Regions from separate parts of the Homo sapiens genome. Here all the other regions are linked to region 3. Evidence: promoter capture Hi-C in 16 types of primary human blood cells and fetal thymus (Javierre and others, 2016). All regions are on one chromosome and are shown on one strand. The core of a region is centred on a gene start or on the middle of the fragment in contact, and the rest is flanking DNA. Distances in the headings are between cores, read along the strand shown. Region 1 has its middle 12 kb from the start of ZXDA. Region 2 overlaps KLF8 (KLF transcription factor 8). Region 3 holds the start of SPIN3 (spindlin family member 3).

Region 1 (4,271 bases), core at 1,105-3,604, 900 kb after region 3:
ATATATCACATAAATATAATTAAGGACAAAATCCCTATAATCATCTCAACAGAGTCAAAAAAAGCATTCAATAAAATTCAGCATCCCTTCATGATAAAAAAACTGTTAATGAACCAGGCATAGAAGGAACATACTTCAAAATAATAATAATGGCCATATGTGACAAACCCAAAGCCAACATCATACTGAATGGGGAAAATTTGAAACATTTCATCTGGAACTGGAACAAGAGAAGGATGCCTCCTACTCTCAACACTCCTATTCAGCATAGTACTGGAAGCCCTAGACAGAGCAATCAGGCAAGGGAAAGAAATAAAAGGCAGCCAAATTGGAAAAAAGGAAGTTAAATGATCCCTGTTTTGTGATGACATGATCGCATATCTAGGCAAACCTAAAGATTCTACCCCAAAAACTCTTACATTTTATAAATGAATTTAGTAGAATTGCAGGATGCAAAATCAACATACAAAAATCAGTGACTTTTCTATACATCAATAATGATCTAGCTGAGAAAAAAAACAATAAGGCAATCCCATTTCCAATAGCTACAAAAAAAGTACCTAGGAATACATTTTAAAAAGAGGCAAATGATCTCTACAAAAAGAAAAAAACCCTACAAAACACTGATGAAAGAAATTGAAAATGACACAAATAGAAAAACACTCCATGCTCACAGATCTGAAGAACTAATAGCATTAAAATTACCATACTGCCTAAAACAGTCTGCAGATTCAATGCAATCCCTATCAAAATGACACCATTTTTAACAGAATTAGCAAAAAGAATCCCAAATTTCATATGAAACCCCCCAAAAAATCTGAATAGCAAAAGCAGTTCTAGCAAAAAGAACGAAGCTGGAGACATCACTTTACCTTACTTAAAATTATACTAGAAGGCTATAGTAACCTAAACAGCATGGTACTCTTATTAAAATAGTAACATGGATCAATGGGACAGGATAGAGAACCCAAAACAAAAAGCCATACAGTTACAGCCAATGTATCTTTGAAAATGTCAAAAAGAACATACATTGGAGAAAGAACACTTTCAGCAAATGGTGCTGGGAAAATTTGATTTTCATAAGCACGGGAATGTAACTGCTATGTCTTACCATACACAAAAATCAACTCAAGATGGATTAAAGATTTAAATGTAAGGCTGAAACAAATATTCTAGAACAAAACCTAGGGAAAACTCTTTTGGGCCTCGGTTTAGGCCAATAATTTATGACTAAGATCTCAAAGGAACAGGCGACAAAAACTGACATAGACAAATGAGACTTCAACTAAAAAGCTTCTGCACAGCACAGGAAATAATAAACAAAGTGAACAGACAACCTGTAGAATGGGAGAAAATATGTGTAAAGTATACATCCAACAGGGCACTAGTATTCAGAGTATACAAGGAACTCAGCCAACTCAACAAAGAAAGAAAATCCCATTAAAAAATGGAAAAATGACATGTATGGAGATTTTTCAAAAGACCTACAAATGCCCCACAGATACGTGAAAAAAGTATTCAACATCACTAGTCATCAGAAAAAAATGCAAATTAAAACCATGATGAGATATTATCTTACCCCAGTCAGAATGGTATAATTAAAAAGTCAAAGAATAACACATATTGACAAGGATGTGGAGAAAAGGGAACTTTTATACATTGTTGGTGAGAATTTAAATTAGTACAACCTTTATGAAAAACTAAGTATGGAGATTTCCCGAAGAACTAAAAATAGAACTACCACTTGATCCAGCAATCCCACTGCTGGATGTCTACCCAAAGGAAAAAAAATCATTATATTAAAAAGATAGCTGCACTTGTATGTTTATTTCAGCTCTAGTCACAATAGCAAAAATATGGAATAAACCTAAGTGTTCATCAATAGATGATTGGATAAAGAAAATGTGGTATGTATACACAATGAAATACTATTCAGCCATAAAAAGAATGAAATCACATTTTTTGTAGCAACATGGATGGAACTGGATGTCATTATCTTAAGTGAAACAAGTCAGACACAGAAAGACAAATATTTCACATTCTCACTCATAAGAACTCCCATATCTGATGGTGAATGTGTAAATTAGTACAAACACCTTGGAAAACTGGCAGTGCTTACTAAAATTTAACATACCTAGCTACACTCCCATTTATTTATTTGATTGTTCATAGCAGCATAATTAGCACTTGCCAATAACTGGAAACAATATAAATGCCTATAAGCAGAAACTAAAAAAATTATGGGTGAGGGATACACTATAATTCTACAACAAAAATAAATGAACAAGCCACGTGTGGTGTCCTATGCCTGTAGTCCCAGATACTAGGGAGGCTGAGGTGAGAGGATACCTTGAGCCCAGAAGATCAAGGCTGCAATGAGCTATGATAGTGCCATTGCACTCCAGCCTGGATGACAAAGAGAGACCTTCTCTCTTAAAATAAAAATGAATAAATGAATTGTTTATACATGCTAAACCATGGCTGAATTTCACAAACAAAATGTTGAGTAAAAGAAGTCAAAAAGAATATAAACTTTCCATAAAGTTTAAAAATAAAACTAATCTGTAGTTTTAATATATTCACAAAAAAACTTGTACACAAATATTGATAGCAAAAACTAATAATACCTAAAGGTGGAAACAACTCAAATGTCCATTAATTAATTAACAAATAAAATGCAATATAGCTATACAATGTGATACATTTCAGCCATGAAAAGAGTGAAGTACTGATATGTGCTAAAACATGGATGAACTTTAATAACATCATACTAAGAAAAGCCAGACACAAAAGCATATATTGTACAATTCCATTCATATGAAATATGCATAATAGACAAATCCATAGAGACAGAAAGTAAATTAGTGGTTTCCTGGAGATGAGGGAATGGAGAATGATTATGGGATTTCTTTTCAGAGTGGCAGAGGTGTTCTGGAATTACCCAGTTGTGATGACTCAGCAACATTATGAATGTTTTAAAAATGACTGAATTGTATATTTTAAAATGGTGAATTTTACATTATGTGAATTTTATCTCAATAATAATAATAAACGAAGAGAAACAAGCAAATAAAAAACATCTAACTTTTGGTTTTGAAAATCAAGTTATTTATTTTGGTACAGGATGGTAGTGACTAGCAGAGAATATGAGGGAGCTTTGAGGTTCTGGTAATCCTTTCATCTGAGTAGTGGTTTTATAGGTGTATTCATTTTTTGAAAATTAATAAAGCAATTTTGTAATGTATGTTATATTTTTAAAGTATATTTCAATAAAAGTTATAAAAATAAAATTTACAAATTAAAAAATGTTTTAGGGCCAGTTATAATTCAATACATGGTAACTTAAAATTATATCAAGAAATAATTAAAATACACAATATAGCCTCACAACTAACAATCTATAGGTTGGTATCTGGAAGCTTATTGAATTGAATAATCCAACAATCTTGAAAATAAAAATAAAATAAAAATCAATTAGCAATTTTAAAGGCATGAATCAAAGATTCACATTTAGTTTAAAAATACTCTTAAAAATACTTGGAGTGGAAATACTTAAAAACACCAACTACTAAAATTATCATGTAAAATAATCAATAGCCTCCAATTTCATAACATTTTGGCATTTCATAGTCAGGGCCCAAATCTGTAACTTTTCTCTTTACTTATTACTGTCTTCAAGAAACTTTCAAAAGATAGATTGTATTAGACAGACAGATTACCAATGTTGCAATAATGGCTCTTTGATTTTTTTTATGTCTAACTGTAACTGGAAAATTCTGGACATGCTTCAAAATTGTCACTATGCTTTTATCCAGATGCTTTCAACCAAAGACACTTAGACCAAAACACTTGGCTATAGAGCAAACTTAATCATTTGATTGTTTAAATTCTATTTTCTCATTTCTATTTTTGGGAAGAATCCTCAATGATTTTTATAAATACAGGCAACATTTTATCTTTAAGAATTTTTTTGTCCCAAAAGAATCTATGGTGAATGACAACAAGAATCACTTTGCAAATAATATTCTATCCAGTGTGTTTTTGCAATACTCAGTAGATTTGGTACATAGATTTAGCAGTGAAAATGACTATCCACTGCCTACTGTAAAAATGAAATATAATAAAAGTTAGTCAAATTTTTAGATTTCACATAGACTTACTGCTGTAGATAAACTATTCTAAAAATGAACTGAATAGAAATATGCTGAATAATATACAAGAGTGGATTTATCAGCAAAATTTATAAATACAGAGAATTTGATTTAATAAGA
Region 2 (4,370 bases), core at 1,646-4,145, 730 kb before region 3:
GTTGAGAACAATATTTCTATCTCAAACATACTTAGCCAGTATTAGCTCCTGCCTCTACCAATACTTTCCCTTTTCTCTTCCCTACAAAAGAAGTAATTGAAATATTGTCATCTTCCCTGTGTTCTTCCTCATTTGGCATCTATCACTTTCCATTTTACTTATTTATTTGCCTGTATCACAAGAGTTTGGGCATTATTCACAACTGAATTGTAAATTCCTGAAAAATAATACTCTATCTTAATTTTTTTATGTATGCCTCCAGAGAACTTAACACAGTGCTAGGAGTTGTCTTGCAACAGATAATTTGATGAACAAACAAACTTGAAAATTTGTCCAAGAGAGAATTCAAATGCTATAATCTTCCATTTTATTTTATTTTTAAAATAAGTTCAGAATTCAGAAAGGTATAAATTAAGTCTCTCTTCCACCACTATCCCCCAACCACTAGTTTTCCTCCCAGAGGTATATCTGTTTTAGTTTGTAATCAGGAATGATCAAGGAAAATTATGTGGCCTCTAAAGCAGGCTGATAATGTTTTGCATAAATCGGAAAGGCCAAGGGGTGGAAATGACTAGGAAGCAGATTTCAGCTTACTGTAAAAGAGTATCTACCCTTGAAATTTGATGCCCTGTACTAAATGTAGGAGGCTGAAAAACAACATACTACTAAGCATCAAGTTGCTGAGACTCTGCACTGGTCTTCTGAATACAAATATTATTATTGACTAGTGGTTAATTGTGGTAATGATAAGTGTTCATAATCTTATTTTGAGATGTGATATCCATTCCATATATGAAGGGAGAGCCAAACAAACAAACCAAAAAAAGGAAACAAACAAAAAAGGAAATAAAATTCCTCGTGTGACAGTTTATGCTGAGATAAAGGCAGTGGTAACATCAAAGGATGGTTTGAAGGAGCTTTGAATAGTCCCCATAATATCATCAGTCCATCAGAGCCACTCTAAATAAACAGGATAAATTTTAAATGTGCTCAATGTGGTTCCAAGCTAAGGGCATTGGCCCAATGGTGTCTGTATTAGTTCGTTTTCATGCTGCTGATAAAGACATACTCGAGACTGGGAAGAAAAAGAGGTTTAATTGGACTTACAGTTCCACATAGCTGGGGAGGCCTCAGAATCATGGTGGGAGGCAAAAGGCACTTCTTACATGGTGGCAGCAAGAGAAAAGGAAGAAAGAATAGCGGAAAGCCCTGATAAACCCATCAGATCTCATGAGACTTATTCACTATCATGAGAATAGCAGGGGAAAACTGGCCACCATGATTCAATTAACTCCTCCTGGGTCCCTCCCACAACATGTGGAAATTCTGAGAGATACAATTCAAGTTGAGATTTGGGTGGGGGCACAGCCAAACCACATCAGTATCCAAAATGGGGGGCTTACTAAACCTTAGGGGGCACATATAAAACAATTGGAGTGCAAGAAGAAAGTATCAAAATTTGTATTTTCTTACCCTTAAAAATTGACAGGTAATATTGTATGTTTTAATCATCTATAGCATGATGTTTTGAAGTACATATGCATTGTGGAATGGTTAAATCTAGCTAAATAATAAATGCATTACCTCATTATCATTTTTGTGGTGAGAGCACTTAATGTCCATTCTCTTTACAATTTTAATAAATAAAATGTATCATCATTAACTATACTTGCCTTGCTATACAATAGATCTCTTGAAATGTATTCCTCCTATCTAGCTATAATTACGTATCCTTTGACCAATATCTCCCCATCCCCCTCCCCACTAGCCACCCCAGCCTCTGGTAACTACCATTCTACTCTACTTGCATGAGATTAACTTTTTTAGATTCCACATATGAGTGAGATCATGCACTATTTGTCCTTCTGTGCCTGGCATATTTCACTTAACATAATGTCCTCCAGGTTCATCTATGCTCTCACAAATGGCAGGATTTTATTCTTTGTTATAACTGAATAATATTATATTGTATATATATATATGTCACATTTCATTTATTCATTCATTTGTTGATAGATATTTTAGGTTGGTTCCACATCTTGGCTGTTGTGAATAATGCTGCACTAAACAGGGATGCAGTTATCTTTTGGGCATGTGATTTTATTTCCTTTGGATATATACCCAGAAGGGAGATTGCCAGATCATACGGTAGTTCTAATTTTAAGTTTTTGAGGAACCTCCATACTATTTTCCATAAAGGCTATAACTAGTTTACATTCCCATCAACAGTGTGTAAGTGTTCCCTTTTCTCCACATACTCACCAGCACTTACTGTCTTTTGTCTTTTCGATAATAGTCACTCTAACTTAAGTGAGATGACATACTACTTTTTGTTTGTTTTCTTATAATGTATACAAAATTGTAGGATACCGATACATGTATATCACATACATGCACAAACATGCACACCTCAAGATACATGCTTAAAACTTTTTAGTGAATGATATGCAAAGTATAGAGACAACTCTTTTAACCAAATACTTGTTCCCCACCTTATCACCACCCCCAAGTTTCTTCTCTATAGAAATTTTGAAGGTTTCACTGGATCTAGGAGACTGTTGACCACCTGATTGAGTTTTTAGGAATTAGAAACATCAGGGGTTGATAATAAGGAATATTTGACAGCTTCTCCCAACATAGGTGGAAAGGAAGGTTGTATCAAGCACCTACTAGGTGGTAGGTATACGTTTCATCTCATTGACTTATTTCTGTTTAGGAGCACAAAGGCCAAGGTGGATGTTCTCACATCTGGACTAATCCTAGAATTTGATTTTAGGACAGCCAGGAGCTATTCAGTGAGTTCAATTCAACACACACACACACACACACACGTTGAAACTAACTTTTCAGCTGACCCTGTCCTGGTAGCTGGAGATAGAAAGATGAATCATACCCAGACCACATCCTAGAGACACTCTCATTTGATACCACTCATAGTGGTATCAGAACTCTTCATACTACTCTTACTTTAAAGGCATTTCTGTTCCCTGCTATGCAAAAAAAAAAAATAAAATGTTATTCTCTTCCTTCCATGCAAATACACTTCTTTCATCTTGTTTTTTATTTCTTTATTTTTCTGTCTTGCTGCCACTTCTTAAGGTGGGACAAACTGGGAATCCTGAAAATGATTAAAGAGGCACATACATCTTCAGCTCACACTGCTCCCTTTCTTTGCTTTTAGTGAAAGTTGACCCCACCTCCATGTCTCCACTGGAAATTCCAAGTGACAGTGAGGAGAGTACAATTGAGAGTGGATCCTCAGCCTTGCAGAGTCTGCAGGGACTACAGCAAGAGTGAGTACTTTTTGTCTTCAAGTCTGTCTTTGTGTATGTGTGTGTGTGTGTGTGTGTGTACATTTGCACATATGTATAGGTGGAACTAATGATCAGACACAAGAGTAAGAATTTGAGGACAAGAAATATAGGGAGACTGCCTTTCCAGTGAAAGTATATGAGTTTGTGTGCACACATGTGCATGTACATGCATGCTATAGTAGAGCTATGTTCTAACTGTAGATCATCAATTTTTCTTTTGAAAAATCTTCAAATTTCCCATAAAGTGTAGTTATGTACTGTTTCTCTCTGTAAGTTTAAAACAGCTTTGTCTTTCAATATTGAAACTAATTGGAAGTAGTTGGCTTGTGTTTAGCAACAACTGTTGTATGAAAAACAAATTTCTTTAAGCAGGAAAATGAAACTTATTGAAGTGAAATGCTCACACTGTTTGGGAACACAACCACTGAAGGAAACACTACCACCTCCCATGCTTTCTCTGAGCACCTACTGAGGGACCTGTACCTACTGAGCAGAATGGCCTAGTTGACAGAATTGTTTTTACTATTCCAATTATTTCTTTTTGGGGGGACCTAGCATTAAATTCACGTAAATTAAAAGCCGATATGATGTGGCACCAATGAATGTAAATTCATTTTTTTAGCCTTCACTTTAAAGTCACTGTTTGGCTTTATCTCTATTTCTTTGATCAGACCAGCAGCAATGGCCCAAATGCAGGGAGAAGAGTCGCTTGACTTGAAGAGAAGACGGATTCACCAATGTGACTTTGCAGGATGCAGCAAAGTGTACACCAAAAGCTCTCACCTGAAAGCTCACCGCAGAATCCATACAGGTCTGCCCACTCCCATCTCACCCCCAACACACACACACACACACACACACACACACACACGAGAGAGAGAGAGAGAGAGGGGCAGAGAGAGAGAGAGAGAGGGGCAGAGAGAGAGAGAGAAAATTTCTGAGAGACAGAGAATGAAGTCCTGAAACAAAGACTGATGCATTTATACTCATGGGCACAGGCTCCATTCATGGTTTTTATCCCTATTTCTTGTCCCTACTCTAAGGCAGATTTTATAA
Region 3 (4,370 bases), core at 1,323-3,822:
TGCCAGCACTTAAAACATCATTAAGCCTACAGATTACCTACCACTGACTGTGTTCCAAGTCCTGCTGGGATACCATAATAGATGAGCCCACCAGTCCCTGCAAGGAAGTATAGCCTGCTTTCAGCCATTCTTGGTTCTCACAAGTGCCTTGCCCACCTCACATGCTGGGACTCTGAATTCAGTCTCCTAAGAATCAAATCTAAAACTTGAGTCTCTCTTAGCACAGCAAAGAAATCTGTATCTCAGTTTGATTCTAGGTTTCTCCTCTTTCATTTTGAGGTTCTGGACAGATCTGTCCAAACCCAGCCAAACCCAGCCTTTGCCTGTGACTGAGGGCTCTAGCTAGAGCCTGGCTTAATGCTCCTCTGGGCTGGCAAAGACCATTTGTGCTAAAGTCTGCCTGCACAGCTTCTATCAGTTAAAACCTACTCCATGTCTGCAGATACCAGCCAGAGCTATTGGAGACAAGAGAGACCCTAATGCCACTGATGACTAAAACCTTTCACTTAAGCTCCACCAGAAATCTTGATCTCTCCACTTGGAGTTTGGTCCCCAAATGCTTGTCTTCTTATCAGTTTTGCAAGGTTTCTCAGCCTATGGTTAGGTACTAAAATGCAAAGTAATTACCTTCTTAATTCTAAAACAGTTGAGCAATAGGTGAAAGAACCGGAAAGAGAGCAAAATTATTAGCCTTACTTTTAGTACAGTTAGAACTGAGAATGCAACTTGAACAAGAGACCAAAATGGGCTTCCCACTCTTTCCCAAGTTAGATTTTTGAAGCCACTTGGGGGAGATTTGAGATTGCAAAGACACTTACCCAGCCAGTCACATGGGATATCTCAGCAAGCTTCACACCTCAATGAGTGTAGAGTCCAAGTGCCAAAAAGAGTGAGGTGAGAGGTGTTCAGCTACCTTTAATCTATTAACACCACCCAAGATAAAAAAAAGTATGAGCCAATGGATGTCAGACTTTACCCTTCTCACTAATCAGTTAAATTGCGGAGAGGAACCAGTGAAAAGGTTGGACAGATGGGCAAAAGGTTTCTTCCAAAAACGTATGAGAGGGCAGAAGTTCCAATTTTTTTGCCAAGCAAAACGTGCAAAAAGGGAGAAGATGGTTCTTACAAACTGGAAAGCAATCAAGACTTTCTGTGTCTACAGATTTAGAGTCTCATATATTTGGCAAATTTCAAGATGACCTCTAAGATGTTTTTACCAAATCGTAGACATAGATATGGAAATCATCATCAAATTTGATGAAGTACACAGAGGGTTTTGCTTCTACCTGATGAATGACCATGCCAGTTCTCTTGGAGCCATCGTCTTTGGCGTATTCCACCTGTTTGCCTACCAGGCTGTCTATGACTTCTCCTGGCTCCCTCTCTGCCAGAGGAGAATCATTGGAATCTTGAAGGATGCGGAGGTCACCATCTTTATAATCATCTAAGAGCTGGTACATATATAATACAGGATCTTTCTCATAGGTAATGTAAAACCATGTGTTCATGACAGGTGCCTGAGCTAAGACCATCCCCCTCCATTCATTTTTGGAACCTTCCTCTGTCTCAAAAATATGTTCCACTGCTTTGCCAACCATTATTTCTGCCAAGTGTGTATCACTGATTCTAGATGATGCAACTCTATTAGGAAGGACTTCAAGTGATGACACTCTTTCATCTCTGTGAAGTTCCAATCCATAAACACAGTCAAATCCATCATATTTGATAAGATACAGAGAGGGATTTACAGGTACCTGATCCAGAACGGTTCCTTTCCACTGTGTTAGAGGTTCATCTCCATCTTTCCATCCGTGCTGAATTCTGCAGCCCACGATGTTCCCCCGAGGCTGGGAGGTGGGTCGGCTCCTATGCTTCTTGTGTGCAGCCTTCCTCTTTATCATGGTAACAGACACACTGCCGTGGCCAGCGCCCGTCCTGGACCGCTGCCCTGCAGCTGCCTTTCCAAACGGGGTCTTCATGCCTGCGAAGAGGAGCACAGTTGCCAGGTGGACCGAGAAAGGAAATTAACAAAATCAATGCATAACACGGAGAGCTTTTTCTCCTAATCAGCGCACCCAGTAAACCCACACCTGTTTTTCCCGAAAGCTAGATAGCAAAGCTGGAAATCAAGGCACCCTGGCTGAGTGCCTGCAGTAACCTTCCTCCCCAGCTCAGTCTGGCTAAGATCTGCGGTTCGGTGAAATACGAAGCGTTTCCCCATTCCCCTCGCCCTGCTTCCAACACTACCCGGCCAGGAGGCGCAGATTCCCCACCGTCCCGGATTGCGGGCCTCAAGTGCACAAATCGGACACCTCGCCGTTGCCTCCGCAGTGAGCCTATGGAGGAGGAAAATCAGCGGGCGAGCAGCCCGGTGCTTGCAAAAGCTGGGAGAGGATGATCCATAGGCAATGAGTGTCTCTAAGAGGGCGGCGGGGCAGGCGAAGATGACCGTGGCGGCGTCCCTTGCTCTTGGCTCCTGCGTCCTCCGCCTTCCTGGTGGCGGCGGCGGTGGCGGTGGCCGCAGCCCCTCTCCCACATCGGACTCCCACTAGTCGCTGCTGCGCCGCAGTCTCCTCCTTCTTTTTCTAGCGCAGCTTCCGGTCAGTAGAGAGGCCTCCCCTTCCTGCCAAACACCGCGTGGCGCCCCTCCCCCACCAACCTGTACCACAGCCCTGGGCGTGGAAGGTGCTCCTAGGCTCTCGGTCTCGCAGCTTCCTCCAAATCAGAAGCTGTGGAGCCCACAACCACCTCTCTCTCACTGCATTGGTTTACCTCTTCTGGTTTAGCACGCGCCCCTCCCCTCACCTAACCTCAACCCTCTGCGCCCCTGCCCCTTCTGCTTTCCACCTTTCAGGAATTAGCCCTTTCCTTTCCCCTCCCTCCCCGCGTCCCCCCACCCTCCATTGAAGGGGATTTGTGGTAGGACAAGAGAAATGCGCTACTGCTCAGTGTTCAGGCTGCCATCTTGACCCAATCTACGTAATTTTTACTGACTTGTCATTCCCAGACTTAACTTCTTGAGGATTTCTTTTCTTTTCCCCTGATTGCAAAAGAATTGCATGCACAATATTGACACTGTAAAATTCAGAAAATTGACATGAAGAGAAAATAATTAACTAAGCCGGCCTCCCATTTTCCAGGGCTCACAGTGAAATATTAACACTATTTCCTTTTCCTTTTTTCTAAGCTCTTACAAAGCTTGGATAATTTTGAATATGCACTTTCATGTCCTGCTCATTTCCATGTAGAATAAACATTTGCTCAATTTTTTAGATATTTTCTGAGAACATGTTTTGTAGTAGCTTCATAAAATTAAGCATTAGGATTTTTCATAATTTTGCCGTTGCCTCCTATCTTCAGACGTTTAATTGTTAAATACCTATAAATTGTGCTTGCGCATGAATTATTCTGTTCACTTGAACAGAATAACCTAGACACTAAACTTAGAACAATTGCTATAATTAAAACAGGAATTTGTGAGATCATAAATCTGTGGAGAAAGACATTTTAGAAGTGATTCAATCAGTTTTATCGTTACAGCCATCCTAGTGGGTATGAAGTGGTACCTAATTGTGGTTTTAATTTGCATTTCTCTAATGACTAATGAGGATGAGCATCTTTTTGTGTGCTTGTTGGACATTTGTGTATCTTTGGAGAAATGTCTATTTCAAGTGCTTTGTTCATTTTTTAAATGAATTGTTTGTAGCAGGGCTGTTAATTGTTCTTTTTAAATTCTGGATGAGAGAACCTTATCAGATATATGATATGAAAATATTTTATCCCGTTTTGTGGGGTGTCTTCACTTTCTTGATAGTATTTTTGATGCACAAAAGCTTAAAACTTGGTTGTGCGTTTGGAGTCACACCTAAATAAACACTGCCAAATCCAAGTTCATGAAAATGTACCCCTATATTTTCTTGTAAAATTTTGTTTGTTTTTAGCTCTTATATTTATGTCTTTGACCCATTTTGAGTTAATTATTATGTATGGTGTGATGAAGGGGACCAAATTCATTGTTTTGCACATGGATATCCAGTTGTCTCAGCACCTTCTGTTGAAGAGACAATTCTTAGCCTTTTTAATTGTCTTGGCATACTTGTTGAAAATCAATTTAGTACAGATGTATAGGCTTATATCTGGACTCTTAATTCTATTTCATAGAATTTTATGCAAAAACCACGTTTTTAATTTATCTTTATGCAAGAACCACATTTATTTTTTGATTACTGTAACTGTGCAGTATGTTTGAAATCAGTAAGTGTGATTTCTCTGAAAATATTATTAAGATTGTATTGGCTACTCATGCTCCTTTTTTTTTTTTTTTTTTTTTTTTTTTTTTGAGACAGAGTCTTGCTCTGTCGCCCAGGCTA

Evidence for each region. Contacts are between HindIII fragments. The CHiCAGO score rates a contact against its expected background, and 5 or more counts as called.
Region 1: a fragment that was not itself captured here is called in contact with the fragment with the promoter of SPIN3 in region 3 in 1 of 17 cell types (monocytes); the score reaches 5.5 in monocytes.
Region 2: a fragment that was not itself captured here is called in contact with the fragment with the promoter of SPIN3 in region 3 in 2 of 17 cell types (non-activated CD4 T cells and total CD4 T cells); the score reaches 5.3 in non-activated CD4 T cells.

Annotation. Positions count from the first base shown.
Region 1 is chrX:57,896,311-57,900,581 of GRCh38, forward strand. No RefSeq gene overlaps it. Among named protein-coding and RNA genes, the nearest start is that of ZXDA, 12 kb to the right of the region's middle. The HindIII fragment of the contact is 2,126 bases long and covers 1,292-3,417 here.
Region 2 is chrX:56,266,197-56,270,566 of GRCh38, forward strand. KLF8 (KLF transcription factor 8) reads left to right here. Exons shown (of 6, transcript NM_007250.5): 4 at 3,182-3,293; 5 at 3,986-4,125. Among named protein-coding and RNA genes, the nearest start is that of KLF8, 36 kb to the left of the region's middle. The HindIII fragment of the contact is 5,951 bases long and covers 1-4,370 here.
Region 3 is chrX:56,992,969-56,997,338 of GRCh38, forward strand. It overlaps SPIN3 (spindlin family member 3), which reads right to left and starts at 2,573. Exons shown (of 2, transcript NM_001010862.3): 1 at 2,248-2,573; 2 at 1-1,981. The coding sequence starts at 1,979. The coding sequence ends at 1,203. RefSeq lists an enhancer at 2,505-2,604. The HindIII fragment of the contact is 2,350 bases long and covers 847-3,196 here.